Linked DNA regions of Homo sapiens: region 2 is linked to region 1. The links are contacts of gene promoters, found by promoter capture Hi-C in blood cells and fetal thymus (Javierre and others, 2016). All regions are on one chromosome and are shown on one strand. Each heading gives the region's core, a stretch centred on a gene start or on the middle of the fragment in contact. The rest is flanking DNA. Distances are from core to core; before and after follow the strand shown.

Evidence for each region. Contacts are between HindIII fragments. The CHiCAGO score rates a contact against its expected background, and 5 or more counts as called.
Region 2: the fragment with the promoter of FZD10-AS1 here is called in contact with the fragment with the promoter of TMEM132C in region 1 in 1 of 17 cell types (M1 macrophages); the score reaches 5.8 in M1 macrophages.

Annotation. Positions count from the first base shown.
Region 1 is chr12:128,264,088-128,269,343 of GRCh38, reverse strand. It overlaps TMEM132C (transmembrane protein 132C), which reads right to left and starts at 2,174. Exons shown (of 9, transcript NM_001136103.3): 1 at 1,857-2,174. The coding sequence starts at 1,941. It overlaps LOC107987176 (a long non-coding RNA gene), which reads left to right and starts at 2,312. Exons shown (of 2, transcript XR_001749176.1): 1 at 2,312-2,773. RefSeq lists enhancers at 1,133-1,971, 2,507-3,028. The HindIII fragment of the contact is 9,837 bases long and covers 1-3,700 here.
Region 2 is chr12:130,159,679-130,164,934 of GRCh38, reverse strand. It overlaps FZD10-AS1 (FZD10 antisense RNA 1), which reads left to right and starts at 3,257. Exons shown (of 4, transcript NR_033834.1): 1 at 3,257-4,278. FZD10 (frizzled class receptor 10) reads right to left here and starts at 2,471. Exons shown (of 1, transcript NM_007197.4): 1 at 1-2,471. The coding sequence starts at 1,992. The coding sequence ends at 247. RefSeq lists enhancers at 1-190, 276-1,271, 2,858-3,424, 3,425-3,991. The HindIII fragment of the contact is 7,232 bases long and covers 1-5,256 here.

The DNA of each region.
Region 1 (5,256 bases), core at 925-3,424:
TGTGAGCCTTAATGAAGAACAGTCCACACTTGCTTTAAAGGGAACATCCAGTTCGCCTGGTTAAATTCTCTCAAGGGCAAGGGGTGAAAACCCGGAGGAGGTCGGTCACGCCCTGCTCAATTAGCACCGCCTTCCTCTGCAAAGTGCTTTACTACCCATTCAGTCATTTTATCAACAAAAAACTGCTGGGAGGTAGGTTGGGAAGGGAATTCTTCAATGGCCACTTTGCATCTAGGAAAACTGAATCCTAGAAACGCTGGAACCTAGAGCTAATTAACAGCAGAATTCAGGCACCAGATCGTGACTGTTGACTCTTTCAAATAAAATAGAAAAGTGCCCCCCTCTCCTACTCCTCCACCCCCGACTTGCCCCCCCTTTCCCTCGTCTCTCACCCCCTTTCCCCCCTCTCTCGCCCCACCCTCTCTTTCCCTCTTCTCTCACTCCTTCTTCCCCCCCCTCTCTCACCCCACCCTCCTCCCTACCTGGAGCTCTTGGAAGAAAGGAACACTTATATAAAACATAGCAAACTTGTCTGGTTGGTGTATCTGGGAAAGCGCAGCCTCAAGGAAAGTAGATTTTTCTGGATTTTCAGGCGGTGCAGAATGACTTTTGAAAAGCAAACGCTACTTTTAAACCTCCATTGACAACTTGTCTCTCTGAACGCATTTCTAGCTCAGCCTCAGAGCATTAGGCGGGAGAAGGGTGGCTTTGAGTGTTCTCTGCTCAGAGCCTGGGGCCGATACTGGACCCGCGGCGCCGCGCGAAGGCTCAGGGCACCCATGTGCGCACCTCCGTTTAACCAAATGAACCCGAGACCTTCGCCAGGGCGCGGGGAGCAGGAAAGCGACGCTCTCCTTTTTCTACGCCCTGGGCGCGCCCCGGGACTCGGGCAGCTGCTGCCCTGGCAGAGCCTAGGCCTTGCTCCCCGCCTGCCCCGCGGCTCCTGGGGCTGGAGACCGCCTCTCCCCGCCCTTCCCGCCGCCGCATCCGCGCGGCCACTCGGCCGCACACGCACATAATAAAAAAGGTCGGAAAAACCACACGGCTACCTTTCGTGAGCCCTGCGGGCGCCATACGTTAACTCCTTTAAATTCCTCCAACCCAAAGCAGGGCCGTCACTCCCATTGTAGAGAAGAGGACACTGAGGTGAAGGAGCCCCGGACAGGACCGCTGGTGAGGTAGTTCCCGTCGCGAGGGACGCACCCACCTCCCCATCCGCGCTCCCCCACCGCAAAGGACTCATTTGAGAGAACCCGCAGAGAGCCCCTGGTTTCTGCCAAGCTGGGGTCCCTGGTGAGCTGCGCGATGAGTGAGCGTTCCTCTAGGGCCCGCACAGAGACCCTAGCGGTTGCGGAAAGGGGATGCAAAGAACCGGGCCTTCCCTCCTGGAGCACCAGCCCCACAGTGCCGAAGCTGTGGATGGGGAGCTGTGGACAGGGAGCACACAGCCGGGAGGAAGGAGCGCACAGAGCGGAGCACCTCTCCTGGATGCCAGTTCCACAGGGTGACTGTGCTGGGGCTGGGGCAGGTCCGCACGGAACTCAGGGATGGGGAACAAACACCGTGTCCCTCAGCCACGCCCCCTCCTCATCCGCGGGGCAGCTCTGGGTCTGGGGGGTCCGGGGTGGGAGATTCGGGACTCGGGACCAGCCTAACTTGCCCGGATCCCGGCGCCCAGCTGGGAGCGCCCTTCTGGATTAGGGGCGGCTCGGCACCCGCAGAGGCGCTGTTGATGGGATCCGAGCCCCCGCCGAGGCCCCCGCCGCACCCCTCGCTTCGGCTGCCCTCACCCCGAGCTCCCCCGGAACCGGGAAGTTCGCATGCGTCGGCGCGCCAGGCACCCGCCCCGGCCTTACCTTTGCCCAGCAGCGCGCCCAGCAGCAGGCTCAGCGCCCCGCACAGCGGCGCCGCCGGCCCGGGGGCCGCACCCTCGGAGCGCATCCTGCGTCCCGGCCGCTCACGCAGCCCGCCGCCAGCCCGAAGCGCAGCGCCCGCCCGCGGCCCCCGCCGGCCGCCCCATGCCCGGGGCCACTCCCGCAGCCCGGTCGGCCGGGCCCGCTGCGTCTCTGCTGTCCGAGGCCCGCCCCTGCCGGGTCCACGCCGCCGCAGCTCCGGCTCTGGCTCTGGCGGCTCCGGCTCCGCCGCTGCTCGCGCTCCGGCCGGGACAACTTTTCTCCCGCAGCCTCCGCAGCCTCCGCAGCCGCCGGCCCGCCCCGCCCCCGGCCCCGCCCCCGCCCCCGCCCGGGCCCCGCCCCCGCCGAGCCCCGCGACCGCGGACAGATTGAGGGTGCGGTAGGAGAGAGTTCGCCTGCCCGCCGGGAGGGGCGGCAGATGGAGAACCCCCCCGCCCGGGCTAGGGAGGGTGTGCCCGGGAAAGAAGACCGGGAGAGGAGGGGGCGTCTCCCCAGGCGGCTGGGACGGCTCCTCCGGGGGTCCGCGCCTTTCCAGAGAAACTCAGCGTTCGCAGACTCCTGCCCGGGTGCCCAACGGACAGCGGCCCGTGGCCCGGAGGGTCCTGCCCAGGGACCCGACGCTCAAGGCGGAGCTGGACTCCTTCTCCCCACCCTCCCGTGGTCACTGCGGGACCTGGTGGTCGTCACGCCCCATTCCTCAACTTCAGGTGGCCGCTGCTTTAGCCTGGAGGGCTGGGGACATCTGGAATGCAAAGTCCCGCGCAGCTGCTGCGGGGAGAGCTCCTAACTGGATCACTGAGCGCGGAAAAGCAGCGCGCAGCGGAGCGTGAAGGCGGGGTGCGGGCTCAAGACAGATGCGGGTGTGCACCTGTGCGTGTGCGGAGGGGGCGAGGCACGAGATCACAGCGGTGTCTCTGGGAAGGGGACGAGAACGCAGAGGGGAAGAAAGGATCATTTTTCACTGCATGTCTGTGGGGCTTCCACTCCCCAATCATCTCCCCGCCGCCCATAGCATGTGTTTTATTATCTTTTCAGTGGGTGGAGAATAGCCCCTCTCTAGACTTGCTCCTGCAATAGGCAATTTCTCTGCAGACTCAGACAAGGAAGATCCGCCCTCCCCCCCCCCCCCCCGACTTCGTTCTCTCTATCTTTTCCCTCTGATTTCTCCAGGGCTGGCCTCCCTCATGGTGGTGATCCCAGGTGATCTCAGCGGCTTCCCTGTGCGGTTCCTGATGCTCATGCTCTGCTCTTTCTGCCACGCGTGGTCTGAGCAGTTTGAGGGCGGGACCCCGACTCCCCCCTTGTGACTGGGAATGAAGGGCCATGGGTTCGGAGGTCTCTGGACGTCCCCTCCTGTCCTGAGCTCCTCACCACGGGCTCAGCATCCCCTCTCACCGTGGGCTGGCTCGGTCCAACATCAAAAGGAAGCCTGAGGGGTCTTTTCTCACCATCAGTGCAGGAAAGAATTTCAAAAGAAAAAAAGAAGTCCTTGATTGAAAGAAAAGAAATGTAAACGAATGATCCCCAGCAACTGCAACCCCAAGTCTTATCTCCCAACTCAGCCCCTAAGGAATGAGCCAGGCATAAGGAGAAATTGGGGCGGGGTGGGGCGAAGGCTTTGCAGGGCACTGGCCAGAGTGGGAGGCTCTCTCCTGGGGTGGGGCCCGGAAGTCTGGGCCAGGCTGGGGGGAGATGTCTCCCTGGTTTTCTTGGCCGGCTCTACTCACATGATGTGAGGAGAAGGCAGCTTGAAAACTATCCAGGCCCCAAAGGGAACGGTAAAAGCTTGATTCTCATAGGCCTGGATAGCAGAGACTTGATTTTTAAAGTGGATTATGCTGATAATCGCCCAATTCTTCAGTACATTCAGCTAGTGTAGACCTGACCTTGGGGGCAGGGGGCAGTTGTAAAGTAGATTTGGGCTCCTAAAACGGAAGGTACGTTTTATTCTCAGTGCTTTGAGCCTGAACATCACCGGGGAATAATTTTTTTTTCATTTAAATGTTCCCAGCATGAGGGAGAAATACACATGTCCCATTGTTTGTAACTGAGGATGGGAATCTGCCTTATCCTCTCTCCTCCCTATTGGATAACAGGGACAAAAAATAAAAACCCAAAGAAGTGCCCTCCACTCCCCTGTTCTATGCAGCCTCATAATGTACCTTCTTTCCACATCATTTCTTTCCTTTTGGCACAGAACATTGCTGTCCCTACTGCAAAGACAAGTCAGGTCCTGGACTACATCTCTGTGATGCAAATAATCAAAACCAGGGGCTACCAAACAAGCCACAGCAAAATAAATACTAATTCAACATGGGGTTGGAGTGGGGAAAGGATTCTCAATCAGATAAGCTCACTGCACAGCACCCCAAAGGCAGCCACTGTCTTCAGGTGATCCTGAATCACAGATGCCCCTTGAGACTATGATGCCTCCGGGCATCCCCTGTGAGAGCCTTCAGGAGACCCAGCAAATGAAAGCTTCTCTGCAAACCTTCCTTTAGGACTCCATTTAATCTATTGCGTGTCCCTCTCAAGAGCAGTCAAACAAACATGCACACAAAACTGAACAAACAAATAAAACAGATGATATAGTCAATTTCTCTTTCATAGGTAAATCCACAAAAATTGAGGTTCATGGGCTAATAAAGTTTTCTGTATTTATTTTTTTTAAGTCATGTATCATTTAACCCCCAAATCATTAATTCCTTAACTTAGATTACTTCCAGATGGTTTTCTGAATTTCATAAGGAACATCAGAGGCTTCTAATCTCCTCAAAGGCTGTTGCAGAATTCCTTAAGGACTGTGGGCACATGGAAGCACTTAACATAATTTATGGGAGAGGAGAATGATTGGAAAGAGGAAACCTGCTGCTTCCACAGGGTTTCAGGGTTCCTAAGTCAATGAGGCAACTTCAGATTGTTTTGTTCATGCTTAAATGTTAAATTGTGAATATCGCATAAAATGAGGGGTGGAACTTGTGATTTTAGTTCAAAGGCTTCTTGCATTGTCTACCTGTAGACGGGACATATGGGTATATATTGCCGAGGACATGGAAAAGAAAGGCTATATGTTGGCCTCATGAAACAGCTATGGTCATCCCGCAAACTGAGTATCAAGTCCTGACTATGGTGCTTACTATTAGCGATTAAAAAATGAGGAAGAAGGAAAAAAGGGAGAAAAATGATAGAAAGGTCTATGCTTAGTTCTGTGTCCTGTCATTGTTCTTAAAACATATAGGCACTATCTGATTTAATCCTCTTCACACTCGTGGGGTGTATTATTATTATCCTTGGACATTTTATTCATTCATTCATTCATTTAACAAATAGGTGTCACTTGCTT
Region 2 (5,256 bases), core at 2,008-4,507, 1.9 Mb before region 1:
ACACAAGAGGCTACTTCACTGGAGGAGCTTCCCTTCGCTGGAAAACCAAAACAAAACAAAACCCTTTAAGTACATTTTTCCTTTCAGTGTATCACAGCATCCTGAATTTCAGGGTAAACACTTTTTTATGTATTTCTCTTTTGCTTTTATAAAAAAAAAAAAAGAAGAAGAAGAAAGAAAAACACAACCAAGAAAAGCACCACATCTTAGCTCCGGGCGCCCCTGTGCCCTTCCCTCCAGCCCTGTTCACACGCAGGTGGGCGACTGGGCAGGGATCTCATATTTCCCGTGGTGAGTTTTCTGGGGATGCTGGGCTTTTTTGTAAATCCCACCGCTGGTGATCACGCTGGCCGGTTTTCTCCGGCTCTTCTTCTTTAACCTACGGCTGCACACCTGCTGCCAGGACTGCAGAGTCTTGGAGGTCCAAATCCACATCCCGCTGGTGATCCCCACCACCAGCAGCATAAAGATCTTCACCATGAAGATCTCCACGGCGGGGATGGAGGCGGCCATCAGGCAGTCCAGCGTTTTAGTCTGGTTGTTCATTTTGCACTTGTGCTGCGCCGCCAGGATCTTCCAGTAATCCATGTTGAGGCGTTCGTAAAAGTAGCAGGCGATCACACAGGTGGCCGGCACGGTGTACAGCACAGAGAAGAGCCCGATACGCACCATGAGCTTCTCCAGCTTGTCCGTGTTCTCGCCGCCCGTCTTCATCACCCTCCGGATGTGGAACAGGGCCACGAAGCCCGAGAGGATGAAGGACGTGCCGATGACCAGGTAGCAGGCCAGGGGAATGAGCACGAAGCCGGTGAGCGCGTTGACGTCCATGCTGCCCACGTAGCAGACCCCGGTGAGCTCGTCCCCCGCCACCCTGCGCATGACCAGGATCAGGATGGTCTTCACCGCCGGGATGGCCCAGGCTGCCAGGTGGAAGTAGCTGCTGTTGGCTTCGATGGCCTCGTGGCCCCACTTCTTGCCGGCGGCCAGGAACCAGGTGAGCGTGAGGACCACCCACCACAGCGAGCTGGCCATGCCGAAGTAGTAGAGGACCAGGAAGACCAGCGTGCAGCCGGTGCTCTCCAGTCCCTCCTGGATGACATAGAGCTGGCCGCTGTCCCGGTCGCAGGCGATGCTCTCGGCGCCGGCGAAGAGGCGGATGAGGTAGCCCACGGAGTAGACGCAGTAGCACATGGAGAGGAAGATGATGGGGCGCTCGGGGTAGCGGAAGCGGGCCGGGTCGATGAGGAAGGTGAGCACGGTGAAGGCGCTGGAGAAGAAGCACAGCACCGCCCAGATGGCCAGCCAGACCACTGCGAAGCGCTTGTCCTCGCGGCTCCAGTACACGTCCACGCCGGGCGTGCAGAGCGGCGCGCACGACGCGCTCTTCTCCACGTGGTGGAACTTGCCCGGGTTGTCGCAGCCGCCGCGCCCGGGGCCCCCGTCCTTCAGCGGGTGCTCCTGCGCGCTGTGGGGCCGCTGCGGCCGGAACAGCGGCGGGAACAGGCCCGAGCCCCGGGTGGGCTCGTCCGAGCCGTTGTTGGGCGCCTCCATGCACAGGTAGTTGGGGTCGTTCTTGTTGGGGAGTTTCCGGCAGTCCAGGGAGTCGGGCCACTTGAAGTTGAACTGCTCCATAATCGGGGAGCACTTGAGCCGGGCCTGCTCGCACATGACCCGGCAGGCGGGGATGGGGGTAGAGACCTGCTCGGTGCACATCGGCGCGTACAGCGAGCACAGGAAGAAGCGGAGGTGGCCGTGGCAGCCGTACTCCACCAGCGGCGCGAACTCGTGCAACTGGATGGCTGCCTCGCGCTGGTTCTCGTGGCCCATCAGGTTGGGCATACGAGTCATGTTGTAGCCGATGTCCTTGCACATCGGGATCTCGATGGGCTGGCATTTGCCGTCGCCCGGGCGCTCCATGTCCATGGAGCTGATGGCGGCGCACGAGCCCATCACCTGCAGGACCAGCCACAGGCGGGGGCCCGGGCGCTGCATGCTGGCGTTGGACGTGTCCTCGCGGGGAGCTCCGCGCCCCTCAGCGCCGCCGCTCCCGGGCACGGGCTGCTGCTGGCCCCGGCTCTCCACCCCTGCTCGGGCCCCCGCCCATGCCCGCCCGGCCTGGCCCGAGCGCTGCGCACAGCGCCCCCGGCTCGGCTCTCCGCGCCCGGCGTCCGCCGAGTTGGGGGCCGCGGCGGAGAGCAGCAAAGTTTGCAAACAATACCGGGAAGCGAGGGAAGCCCCCGGAGCTCCCGGCGCAGCGGCCCGGCGCGAGCTCCAACTCACGGCCGCGGCAAACTTCGGCCTCTTCTTGGAGCGCCCAGGTGGCGCGTCTGGAGCGGGCTGGCGGCGCGGGCACACCGAGGCCGGCCCAGCTCGCGGCGCCCCCACAGCCCGGGCGGCTCCTCCCTCCCTGCGCCGGCCTCGGCCGGGACCAGCCGGCAGCTGTTTCGAGGTTTGCGTCCCGGGATGAGAAGACTCGCAAAAAGGCAAAGGGGGGCAGAAAAGCCGAGCGCTGACAGGCCCCGCCCCCGGGCCGCGCGCCCCGCCCCGCCGCTGCTTTGCATGAGAAAGCGCAGCGGCCCGGGGCAGCCTCCTCCCCGCCGCCCCGCCGCGGGCTCCCGGGCCCCGCGGGGGCCGATCCCCCCCGGCCTGCAGCCCAGCCTGCGGGGGGCGCAGCGCCTAGTCCCGCCCGCGTCGCCCGCCAGCCCCGGGACAGCCCGCCTGGCGCGCGGGGCTCTGCGCGCTGCGACCCTCCCCGGCAGTCCCGCCCGCCTCTCCTCGCCCTCTCTCTGCCTGGCCTCCAACTTTGCCTCTCGCTATCCTCTCCGCCGGCGCCCCCTTTCCCGGCGGTCCCCGGGATGGTCCCCGGCACCCCGAGGACGCCGAGGTTACGGGAAGTTCGGGGACTGGCGGGAGAAGGGGTTTGGGGGTGGTCCGCGGCGAGGGGCGCGGGGTGCATCTTCTCTTCCTTTTATGGTGAGTCCCGGGCGGAGGGCGCTTTCAAAGGGAGGTGGGATTTGCGTTTTATAGCCTGGGCCATAAAGTAGGCCCTTGCTTGTAAACCTGCCCGCATCTTCCTGAGGCTGGGGAGGTGCTACCAGCCCCGGGCTCCGGGCTCCGAGGAGGGATTTTCTTTGAAATTTCAAAGAGACGAGCTAAGGGGAGGGGGAGGGGCTCGAGAATCCGGATTTTAGGGCCGCTCATCCGAGGTCTCCTCTAAGAAGGCGGGAAGGGGGAGGGGCGGGAAGCGTCCCGGGACTTTGAACACCGCCTCCCACCCCGCGGGAAGTGCGGGCTTGGTTTGTACCGCGGTGACCCCCGCCCCCTCCGAAGCCGCAGAGCCGGGGCCTCGCGCCAGCAGGGCTGGAGATGCCTTCTTGGCGGCTGAGTTTATTTATTATAGGAAGTCATTCGCTCGTGGGGTATTTATGTGATTTGGCGAGTGATGTGCCCGGCCAGCGCCCTCCTTGGCTGCAGCCCCGCAGGAGGACCCGGAGTAGGGTGGGATGGAGTGGGTCGTGGGAGGAGCGCGTCAGCGCCTGCCCGGGGACCCCCAGCTCCCGCGAGGACACGGAGGCGCGCACGCCGCTCGGTTTTCCTGGAAAGTGGAGAAGGAGCGTCCTGGGCAGGTCCTCTGAGCTCATCCCCCCTCGGATTGGGGCGGGTCTGTGACGGGGTCACTTAGGACACGACGTCCCCCCGCCATTCCCTTCCCCCGCCCAGGGCGTTCGCGGTGGGCGCCCACCGCCAAGCCCCACTGTTCCCAAGGATGCGCCAGGTGCTTCCCGTAGCGTCCTGGGTTGACCCTTAAAAAAACAGCACCCCTAGGAGGTGGCCGGCCCTCTCCTCCCAGGGTCTCTCCGGGTCACGATCTTCCAAAGTTCGGAAACTCGCAGGATCGCGTGTGCAATCTCCCGCTACCTCCCGGGGGGCCGGGGAGAGGTCAGAGGAGCGAGTCCCGCGTCCACCGGCCTCGCTTGCCCCCTGCCCGTTTGAGGATAGTTCCAGGGAGCAGGGTGGAGTGTGCGGACATCTTTGGAGGCAGTGCTGGGGCTTCCCGCGTTGGCGGCGCTCCACCCGGCGTGGGGGGCGGCTGCACGGGCCCCCGCGGTGGGGACGCTGCGCACGGGGCAAGGTCTCCCTAGGAAGCGCCCGGGAAGGAGATGGGGCCCGCCAGGAACCCCCCTCACTGACCAGCTTTCTGCACGCCGTGCAGGAGGGGGCCACTTCCTCGGAGAGTATTGGCTTTTAATTAAAACAAGCCCTACAATTTTTACATCGGTAAGAAACTTGGGGAAATCTCACCTTTCCACTCATTCATTCATCCGTTCAACAGACATTTGAGCGCCCAGAATCCCAGAATTAATAGGCAGGTTCAGGCACCCACCCCTGGGTCGCTGTCCCTGGGTGTCCTGGGTCTCACTAGGAGGTGCTGGAGGAAGTCGGGGTGAGGGAGAAAGTGAAAAAGAAGGTAGAAACTCCGGGCAGTTAGAACACCACCTTCAACTGTGTTATTTCCCAAGTGAAAAGTTGCATGATTTTATTTTTGAAAGACTGCCATTTTTATTATAGTGTTTTTTTTTTTGTTGTTGTTGTTTTTTGTCTAGTGAGTAATTTTTCAGGACCTTTAAATTAAAATTAATTCAGCGGAAATCACTTGGCTTTTCTAGAATTTTCCTGGCAAAGGTCCTTCCTGGGCCCTATTTTCCTTCTTTTCCTTTTTGTGTCTCTCCCTCAGCAACTATTAGAAATATTTAGTGCAAGAGTGAGAGCCAAACGCCGGGAGCTGGGTGTGAGCTATTTGAGAAAGTGCCTCCTAATTGATCTTTTCTGTGCTGTTTTAATTCAGCCACGTTCAGGCCCATTATTTTAGCTATAACCACTTCAGATTGCCTTTTTCTCTCGTTTTTTATAAAAATGTCTGCAGAAGTGCTTCGCCCTGTCCAGCTGAGATGGAAACCAACAAATAGACTTTATTATAGAGAAATGAGGGTTCTGAGAAATCAGCAACTGGAAGATAAGTCTGTAACTAATAAATGAAAAGGCTCTTTTGATGGCCCCAGCTGAAAAGATATTTTATTTTATTTTTTTTCCTGTGTGTGGGATTTGAGATGTGTGAGTCTAAGGAGCAGCCGGGGTCCCCCGCTGCTCAGCCCTGGCTGGCAACCGACCCCCCTCTGGCAAATGTTATGGAGAATTGGGAGGAATTTTATGGCTGTCTTTCCCTCAGCTCTTTTTTCTTTTGTCTTCTTTGAAGAA